Linked DNA regions of Homo sapiens: region 2 is linked to region 1. Evidence: promoter capture Hi-C in human tissues and cell types (Jung and others, 2019). All regions are on one chromosome and are shown on one strand. Each heading gives the region's core, a stretch centred on a gene start or on the middle of the fragment in contact. The rest is flanking DNA. Distances are from core to core; before and after follow the strand shown.

Region 1 (5,055 bases), core at 2,556-5,055:
GAATGCCCAGAGTACTGTATCAGCTTGGTTATTTCCAAATCCCCTGGGAGCCGTAGGGGAGGGGACCCAGAGAGCTGGGAGGAAAACCGACTGGGAAGTAGCCAGAGCCACAGAATTCTCCTGGGTCCTAGAGAAGGGTGGGTTCCTTCCACCCCCAACCCCATTAGTCCCTCGAAAAGGCTCTGACCTCACCTCCCCCACTTCCGGAGTGGAGTTCCAGCCCTGAAGAAACACTTCCAAACCCATGGCTCTGGCCCCCTCCTCAGGCCCCCTCCTCGGCTACCTCGGCCCTGGGGACTGGGTCCCCCACCCCACCGTTGCGCCAGATGTGGCTGCAGGGGAGGGGTAGGCACGGGGCCCAGCTGGCAGTGGTCACTCGGTGGTCCTCTCCCTGCAGAGTCAGCACTTTCTGTGCCAGCTCGCCCAGCCTCCTCACTCAGCACTTCCTCCAGCCCGCTTTCCAGAGGCAGCAGCTGCCTGGGTTGGGTCTTGGATTCCCAGTGCTGCCCCAAACCCATCTACAGCGCAGCCTGGAAGATGGAGGGTTTGGGTGCTCTGGGGCCTTCCCTCTTGGCATCCCCACTATCACAGAAAATTCCGACCCACCATGGGCCTCCTAGTACGTCCCTCTGCAAAGCAAGGGAGGAATCCCACAGCTCCTGACCCCTCTCTGCTCCCCAGACCCGCTGCTGGTCAGGCCTGCTGCTTCCTGGTTCCCCCATGGACTTTCCAGAACTCAGCCTTCCATGACAGGGTCACAGGACCCTGGCTGCTCCGTGGGAGCCCCGGCAACACAGAGCTGAGCACGTGGCAGGGGCTTAATAAAGTCATGCGCAATCAACAGGCTCTTTCATCCTTCTATCACCACCCCTCCGAGGGTCCCTTGACACCGGTTCCTAGTGCCAGGAACTGGCAACAAGCTTCAAGCACATGCCTGGGTCTTAAAAATGTGGGTGTGAATCCCAGCCTGCAGGGACAGGCGGAGAGAGAAGCTGCCCTTCACCCCAGACAGCTCTGGCTCAGCTCAGCCTTCGAGTCCACGCCCTCATTTGACCCCAGCTCTGCACCCTCCATAACCTGCCCAGGTCTCTTTTAGGACCCCACCCTGCAGGTTTCAACCTAAGGATGCCAGGACACCTCCAGCCACCAAGGCAAGGCCTTGCCCAGCATGAGGAGAGGTGATGGAAGGCAGGCTCCCCTGGGCTCACAGAACTGCTGGGCCTGTCAGCCACTGCAGGAGACCTAAACCCAAGTAGAATGAGGTCAGAAGGAGGGAGTAGAGAGGAAGGGAGAGGACAGCTCTGGTGGAGGGGCCACCTCTGGCCCCCCTGCACAAGGTTCACCCTGAGCAAGGAAAGATGCTGAAGACAGATAAAAACAGGAAAGACAGAGGAAGTGGGAGTGGGGGTCAACCCCAAGAGATAAATCCCTCCCTTCTCTCACAAGTCAAGAGGAAAGAAGGAAAATAGTGGCCACATGTCTGGCTCTGTGCTGGGGACTTTTCATAATCCTCTCATTCCATCCTCTCAAATATGCCACAAGAAAGGTATGATTACCCCCAGGTCACAGACGGGACTCTGAAGCTCTGAGAGCTTAAAAAGCTTCCCCGGGGAGTGGCTGGGCCAGGCCAGGTCCCTAGCTCAAGTCATGGTGTGGACCCCCAGGTCTCCATCTCAGCAGGGATGGCTGGCAGGAGCGCAGTCCTGGCCAGGGGAGTCTGTGCAGAGGCCCAGGCTATGTTCAGAGCAGAGTTTATTCAAATAGAGCCTAACAGGAAACTTGGCTCCTCTGACTCACTCTGATTCGACCTTATTAAGAAAAAAAGAGAGAGGAGCAGGAGCCAGCATCGGGTAAGGTTTCACGCCAAGAGCTGGCTCTGAGGCCCGCTGAGTGGAATGGCATGTGCCCTGATCCCCCCACATCCAAAGCCTTGAGGCAGCCCCTGCCCTGCTGTCCGAGTCAAGGCGAGGGGTCCTGCCTTCACGTTAGGGCAACTGAGTTCCCTTCCTCACAGCCATCCTCTGTCCTCCCTCCACTCCTCTTCCCTTCCCTCCCTGCCTAGGGGTACCCTGAGGCCTGTTTCCATTTCTCCCCCTCCTCTGCTGCAGCAGCTGCCCATCTGGCTGGCGGGAGGGCCCTACAGGACCCCAGGGATTCCAAGCAGCTGAGGCCAACACTGCAGGGGGCAAGCAGGAGGGAGGGAAGGCTTAACCCTCCAGGTCCCGGCCCTCAGTAAGCCCTGCCTCAGCATCTTGCTTGGTGTCAGTCACACCAGTGGCTCTTTGGAGGAATCTTGTCTGGAGTCTGAGATGGAAACCCCATGCTGGGGAGCTGAGGTGTCAGCGTTGACAAGTTGCTGGCCAGGAGGTATTGGAAGCCCCCTACCTCTGGGCTGGATTCTGGGCATTTAAAGGGTAGAGACATGCTGGAGTCCAAGCCTCAGTCCTGAAGAACAGTGCAATGGGTGAACAAATGCTGCCTGGCAAGGATGGGGTTGGGAGGTCTATAGTTCCCAAAGAATGTCCACTCTAGTTGCCTCCTCTCTAGGTGGGCTCCAGGCATTTCCAAAATAAAGAATATACAGGAGCCAAATTAAGGACAGGTCCTTCATACCTTGTTTATAAGCCCAAGAGGGCAATTTCTGCCCTTCGGTTCCCAGGAACACGGTTGGAGAAGGCAGCCCAGGGGAGGCCAGAAGAGCAGTATTTGGAGTGTGATTTCTTGGATGCCAAAGCGTTCAAACTTCTGGGACCCCCTCCTATCCCTGCCATTCCCAGAAGGAACAGAGAATCTCCCAAAGCACTCTCAGGAGCCATCTGGCCTAATCTTCCATTGGTAAGCCGTGGCACCTGGATCAGATAGAGTAAGGGACTAAGCCACACAGCAACAGGACCAGGCCAGGTCTCCGGAACCCCCTTCTGTTGTTCAATGCTTACTGGCTTCTCTGCCTCACAGTGACCCCTGTCCCATATCAAAGACAGCCCCCAGTTTCATTTTATCCATGTGTACACTCAAGTTATTCCCAGGCTATGCAGAGCCAAGAGATGTAGGACAGAAACCATACGTGATGTCTGGGAAGTTGATCTCTCCCAGGATCTCACAAGTGCTTTTCAGCTCAGGGATACACCCCACTCTTCAGACTGGGAAAGTAAGCCCCTGAGGTGTGCCACGAGGGAAAAGGTGCAGCTCCAGTGCCTCTCTTCGCAGGCCCAAGAGCTGCGGTGCACCTGGGACCTGGAATTAGAGAGTGGTCCCTGTTCAGCATCTCCCCGAGGAGGCCCACCAACAAAGAGGGTGTGTCTTTTTTTTTTTTTTCTTCCTATTGAGGGTGTGGGATAATGGTGGAAGGAACATGCAAAGAGGGTGTGTCTTAATTAGCACTGGCTTTAGGGAACAAGGAAAAGGGAGAACCCGGGAGTACGGGAAGGAGGCTGGGGCAGACAGGAGTCAGAGGCCCATTCCAGCCCAAACGAGAAGCCAGTGAGCAAGGTGGAGACCAGGGATGCTGTGACCAAAGCAGAGAGGAATGGGCGGGGTGGTGCTGACACCCCAGCCCCGTTCTGCCTGCCAGAGCCCCACTTACCAGGCCCGAGTCCCCAGAGGTCCCCTCCTACTCCCTGCTCGATTCCCTTCCTCAGAGGCAGGTCTGTGGCTTGGCTGGGAACTCCAGGGACTGAGGGAGCACTGCAGCTGTGGGACCGGCGCATAGCTAAAAGCCGGCGGGCCATAGGGCCCCGCGGAGGAGGCCCCAGCAGGCGGACCAGGAGGCCGAAGCCTCCCGACGCTCCCAGCCTGTTGCTTATTCATTCAGAGTGGGAAAGCGCCAGCCGAGCGGCCAGCCAGTGCGGGGCTGGCCATGTAAGGCCCACAGGCGGTCCTGCCCGCCCGGTGCCCTGCGGAGAGCCTCGTGCAGCCCTGGGCACCGCCCCTGCCCTGCCCTGACCCCTTGGCCTTGAAATGCTGTCATCGGAGGAGCCGTCCCGCTCGGGACAAGGCCAGCATGGACAAAGCTAGAGCTGGGGCAAGCAAGGAGCCTTCCTGTCCTCGAGGCCGTGGGAAGAGAAGCACGCCCAGGGGGCCACTCCTGAGAGCCTCTCTGTCCACCAGGCCTCTGCAGAGGGGTCACCATGGCTCTGGCCCGAGGCAGCCGGCAGCTGGGGGCCCTGGTGTGGGGCGCCTGCCTGTGCGTGCTGGTGCACGGGCAGCAGGCGCAGCCCGGGCAGGGCTCGGACCCCGCCCGCTGGCGGCAGCTGATCCAGTGGGAGAACAACGGGCAGGTGTACAGCTTGCTCAACTCGGGCTCAGAGTACGTGCCGGCCGGACCTCAGCGCTCCGAGAGTAGCTCCCGGGTGCTGCTGGCCGGCGCGCCCCAGGCCCAGCAGCGGCGCAGCCACGGGAGCCCCCGGCGTCGGCAGGCGCCGTCCCTGCCCCTGCCGGGGCGCGTGGGCTCGGACACCGTGCGCGGCCAGGCGCGGCACCCATTCGGCTTTGGCCAGGTGCCCGACAACTGGCGCGAGGTGGCCGTCGGGGACAGCACGGGCATGGCCCGGGCCCGCACCTCCGTCTCCCAGCAACGGCACGGGGGCTCCGCCTCCTCGGTCTCGGCTTCGGCCTTCGCCAGCACCTACCGCCAGCAGCCCTCCTACCCGCAGCAGTTCCCCTACCCGCAGGCGCCCTTCGTCAGCCAGTACGAGAACTACGACCCCGCGTCGCGGACCTACGACCAGGGTTTCGTGTACTACCGGCCCGCGGGCGGCGGCGTGGGCGCGGGGGCGGCGGCCGTGGCCTCGGCGGGGGTCATCTACCCCTACCAGCCCCGGGCGCGCTACGAGGAGTACGGCGGCGGCGAAGAGCTGCCCGAGTACCCGCCTCAGGGCTTCTACCCGGCCCCCGAGAGGCCCTACGTGCCGCCGCCGCCGCCGCCCCCCGACGGCCTGGACCGCCGCTACTCGCACAGTCTGTACAGCGAGGGCACCCCCGGCTTCGAGCAGGCCTACCCTGACCCCGGTCCCGAGGCGGCGCAGGCCCATGGCGGAGACCCACGCCTGGGCTGGT
Region 2 (5,055 bases), core at 1,089-3,588, 47 kb after region 1:
TAGATGTTAACTCTTGGAGCACAGTCATGTATCTGTTAACCACAGGAATACCATCAGAAAAATGTGTCATTAGGTGATTTCAATGTTGTACAAACATCAGAGAGTGTCCTTACACACTCTGTGATGTGTAGCCTGCTACACACTTAGGCTATAAGAGATAGACTATTGCTCCTAGGCTACAAACCTGTACAGCACGTGACTGTACCGAATACTGTAGGCAATTATAATACAATAATAAGTATTTGTGTATCTAAACATAGCTAAACATAGAAAAGGCACAGTAAAAATATCATATAAAATATTTAAAATGTACACCTGTTTAGGGTACTTACCATGAATGGAGCTTGCAGGACTGGAAGTTGCTCTGGGTGAGTCCGTGAGTGAGTGGTGAATGAATGTGGAGGCCTAGGACAATACTGTACACTACTGTAGACTTTAAAGACACTGTCACCTAGGCTACTACACTAAGTTTATTAAAAATATTATTCTTTGGCAGGGCGCGGTGGCTCACGCCTGTAATCCCTGCACTTTGGGAGGCCGAGGTGGGTGAATCACCTGAGGTCAGGGGCTCGAGACCTGCCTGGTCAACATGGTGAAACCCCATCTCTACTAAAAATACAAAAAATTAGCCAGGCATGGTGGTGGGCACCTGTAATCCCAGCTACCAGGGAGACTGAGGCAAGAGAATCACTTGAACCTGAGAGGCGGAGGTTGTAGTGAGCCGAGATTGTGCCATTGCACTCCAGTCTAGGCAACAAGAGCAAAACTCTGTCTCAAAAAAAAAGTTTTTCTTCAGTAATAAATTAGCCTTAGCTTTCTACAACTTTATGAACTTTAAAATTTTTTTTAAACTTTTTGACTTTTTATAATAACACTTAGCTTAAAACACAAACACATTATGCAGCTATACAAAAATATTTTCTTTTTTTGTATCCTTATTCTATAAACTTTTTATTTTTCAATTATTTTATTTTTACTTTTAAAACCTTTTTGTTAAAAACTAAGACACAAATACACACATTAGCCTAAACCTACATAGGGTCAGGACCATCAATATCACTGTCTTGCACCTCTACACCTTGTCCCACTGGAAGTTCTTCATAGGCAACAACACGCATGGAGCTGTCACCTGCTATTGCAACAATGCTTTTTTTCTTTTTTTTTTTTTGAGACAGAGTCTTACTCTGTCGCCCAGGCTGGAGTGCAGTGGCACGATCTCAGCTCACTGCAGCCTCCACCTCCAAGGTTCAAGGGATCCTCAAGCCTCAGCCTCCCAAGTAGCCGGGAGTACAGGCACGCGCTACCATGCCCAGCGACGGGGTTTCGCCGTATTGGCCAAGCTGGTCTCGAACTCCTGACCTCAGGTGATCCACCTGCCTCGGCCTCCCAAAGTGCTGGGATTACAGGCGTGAGCCACCACGCCCAGCGGACAATGCTTTCTTCTGCAATCTCTCCTAAAGGACCTGCCTGAGGCACTTCTTGAAGAAGTGTCCGTCTTTTCAGAAGTATGTCCATGGTGGTTTGCCAAGTTTGTTTCTTTCTTCCGTCATAGATTTGCATGAGTAATGCTTTGTGTCAGCTAAAATGTTACATCGGCTATGACGTCACTAGGTGATAGGAATTTGTCAGCTCCATTATAATCCTATGGGACCGCCATCGGATACGCAGCCCATCACTGACCTGAGACGTCGTTATTTAGGGTGTGACTGTACTTTAAGAATGCAAATGAATACCCAGGGAGGGCTGAGAACGCGTAGGTAATTACACCATAAATGAATTACTCTTAGCCAAGTAATTTCCAAGGCAAACATACAAAAATCACCTCGTGTTACCTGACAGTGCTATGTTATATTTAACGTAAGAAATCTGTGTATTTTAATATTTAATAAGGTGTGGGAAGGAACTTCCAAAGGTAATAGCATCTGGTCCTAGCAAGGTCTTAAAACGCCGTTTGATTTCAGAATGCCTCATTTTGTAGATTTAATCCAGAATCTGCAGTTTCTGGCGACGCAGTAGTCCGTCTCCCCCAGTTTCTCCTGGCCAAAGCCTCCCACCTTCCTCTCTACCCCCACAACCCTGTCAAGCGCACCTGGACCAGGTACAACAGGGGTGTGTGTGTGAGTGTGAGTGTGTGTGTGAATGCATTTGGGAAAGGCTAGGCAGGGTGAATATTCCCTAGACCCCGCTCTTCACCGTCACTCTACTACAGCAGCTCACTGCCCTGCCCCGCCCCTCCCCGGCCCTGGAAAGCAGCCTCTGGAAAGAGGAAACCAGCTATCTCCCGTGTTGCCACAAGATGGCACCACAAGCTCGGGACTGGCTTTCTTTGCGTTCCCGTCAGAAAAAAACGAGAGCTCTGACCTAGGAGCCGAGGCTCCCAGGGAGACCTCTGGACGCCACTCCCCGGGCTGCTTCTCCTCCTCGGGGTGACTCGGGCCCTCTGGAGTGACCTGCATAGCTTTGTGGTTCGGGCTCCCATGGGGCCCAGAAGCCAGCATGGAGACTTAGGGCTTCTCTTGGGCCACTTTTCTCCTCATACCCAGCATGCAGACCAAGGTTGGGGATGAATTCTGAACGTGGGGCAGAGTCCCTGTCCCCAGAGCAACTCTGAGAGCACCTTGCCCTTCTTCCCAGGGCACAGGCACCAGCCTTCCTCCCCAGCTCAGTCCCTGCTTCTTTCTAAGACAGGTTCTTGCTCTGTCGCCCAGGCTGGAGTGCAGTGGTGCAATTATGGCTCACTGCAGCCTCGACCTCCTCCTGGTGAGAGGTGACAGCGCGCCTGCAGCCCTCGCTCTCGGCGCCTCCTCGGCCTTGGTGCCCACTCTGGCCGCGCTTGAGGAGCCCTTCAGCCCACTGCTGCACTGTGGGAGCCCCTTTCTGGGCTGGCCAAGGCTGGAGCCGGCTCCCTTAGCTTGCGGGGAGGTGTGGAGGGAGAGCCGCGGGCGGGAACCGGGGCTGCGCGCGGCACTTGCTGGCCAGCGCGAGTTCCGGGTGGGCGTGGGCTCCGCGGGCCCCGCACTCGGTGCGGCCGGCCGGCCGGCCCGCAAGCCCCGGGCAGTGAGGGTCTTAGCACCTGGGCCAGCAGCTGCTGTGCTCGATTTCTCGCCAGGCCTTAGCTGCCTTCCCGCGGGGCAGGGCTCAAGACCTGCAGCCCGCCATGCCTGAGCCTCCCCCCAGCTCCGTGGGCTCCTGTGCGGCCCAAGCCTCCGCGATGAGCGCCGCCCCCTGCTCCATGGAGCCCAATCCCATCGACCACCCAAGAACTGAGGAGTGCAGGCACACGGCGCGGGACTGGCAGGCAGTTCCACCTGCAGCCCCCGTGTGGGATCCACTGGGTGAAGCCAGCTGGGCTCCTGAGTCTGTTGGGGACTTGGAGAACCTTTATGTCTAGCTAAGGGATTGTAAATACACCAATCGGCAGTCTGTATCTAGCTCAAGGTTTGTAAACACACCAATCAGCACCCTGTGTCTAGCTCAGGGTTTGTGAATGCACCAATTGACACTCTGTATCTACCTACTCTGCTGGGGACTTGGAGAACTTTTGTGTCTACACTCTGTATCTAACTAATCTAGTGGGGACATGGAGAACTTTCGTGCCTAGCTCAGGGATTGTAAACGCACCAATCAGCACCCTGTCAAAATGGACCAATCAGCTCTCTGTAAAATGGGCCAATCGGCTCTCTGTAAAATGGACCAATCAGCAGGATGTGGGTGGGGCCAGATAAGAGAATAAAAGCAGGCTTGCCCAAGCTGGCAGTGACAACTCGCTGAGGCCCAGTTTACGTTGGCGAAGCTTTGTTCTTTCACTCTTTGCGATAAATCTTGTTGTTGTTCACCGTTTGGGTCCGCGCTGCCTTTATGAGCCGTAACACTCAACCGCGAAAGTCTGTAGCTTCACTCCTGAAGCTAGCGAGACCACGAACCCACCGGGAAGAAGAAAAAACTCCAGACGCACCGCCTTCAGAGCTGTAACACTCACTGGGAAGGTCTGTGGTTTCAGTCCTGAGCCCGTGAGACCACAGACCGACCAGTGGGAAGAAATTCCGCACACATCTGAACATCAAAAGTAACAGACTCTGGATAGGCCGCGTTTAAAAACTATAACACTTACCACGAGCATCCGTGGCTTCATTCTTGAAGTTAGTGAGACCGAGAACCCATTAATTCCCGAAACACACTGGGCGCAAATCTTCCCTTCTCAGTTTTCCAAGTAGCTGGGACTACAGGCGCCAACCACCATGCCTGGCTAATTTTTTTTGTATTTTTAGTAGAGATGGGGTTTCACTGTGTTAACCAAGATGGTCTCAATCTGACCTCGTGATTCACCCGCCTCGGATTCCCAAAGTGCTGGGCTTACAGGTGTGAGCCCGCACACCTGGCCACCAGTTATTTTTCAATTGTTCTGTTTCCCTGTTCTTGCCTTACTAAGAAAGTAATTTTGAAATGACCGATCCGTTCTTTGTTTTTTGTTTCTGGTTTCTTCAGCTTATTCTGTCTGTAAAACCTGCGTCCTCTGCTCCGCTCCATGAAGACGCTCATTCTGTTTTATAGAAGTTAGTAAGTGTGATATATCTATTCTTTGTTTTTGTCTATAGTTCCTGGCTGACAGCCCATATAATCATTGTAATTTCCTAGGAGACTAGAGTGTGATAAGAGTATCTTTCCTTAAAATATTTGGCCTTTCATCCTTTGTTCTTGAAACAGCTCTGGAGCAGCTCCAGAGTAAGCATAAAGGTGAAAGATGGGCCGGGCGGAGTGGCTCACGTTTGTAATCCCGGCACTTTGGGAGGCCAAGGTGGCAGATAACGAGGTCAGGAGTTCGAGACCAGCCTGACCAACATGGTGAAACCCTGTCTCTACTAAAAATACAAAAATTAGGTGGGCATGGTGGTGCATACCTGTAATCCCAGCTGCTCAGGAGGCTGAGGAGGAGAATTGCATGAACTCGGGAGGCAGAGGTTGCAGTGAGCTGAGATCGCCACTGCACTCCAGCCTGGGCAACAGAGCGAAACTCCATCTCAAAAAAAAAAAAAAAAAAGTGAAAGTCGGGCTTGT

The links. The method cuts DNA at HindIII sites, captures the fragments that hold promoters and counts their contacts. A contact is called where the count stands out against the background at its distance.
Region 2: a fragment that was not itself captured here is called in contact with the fragment with the promoter of LOXL1 in region 1 in 1 of the 25 tissues and cell types used here (bladder).

What each region holds. Positions count from the first base shown.
Region 1 is chr15:73,922,657-73,927,711 of GRCh38, forward strand. It overlaps LOXL1 (lysyl oxidase like 1), which reads left to right and starts at 3,806. Exons shown (of 7, transcript NM_005576.4): 1 at 3,806-5,055. The coding sequence starts at 4,128. All of the region lies in intron 1 of LOXL1-AS1 (LOXL1 antisense RNA 1), which reads right to left. RefSeq lists enhancers at 1-287, 288-1,273, 4,312-5,055 and a silencer at 5,054-5,055. The HindIII fragment of the contact is 8,654 bases long and covers 1,261-5,055 here.
Region 2 is chr15:73,970,818-73,975,872 of GRCh38, forward strand. No RefSeq gene overlaps it. Among named protein-coding and RNA genes, the nearest start is that of STOML1, 19 kb to the right of the region's middle. RefSeq lists an enhancer at 2,387-2,596. The HindIII fragment of the contact is 4,429 bases long and covers 125-4,553 here.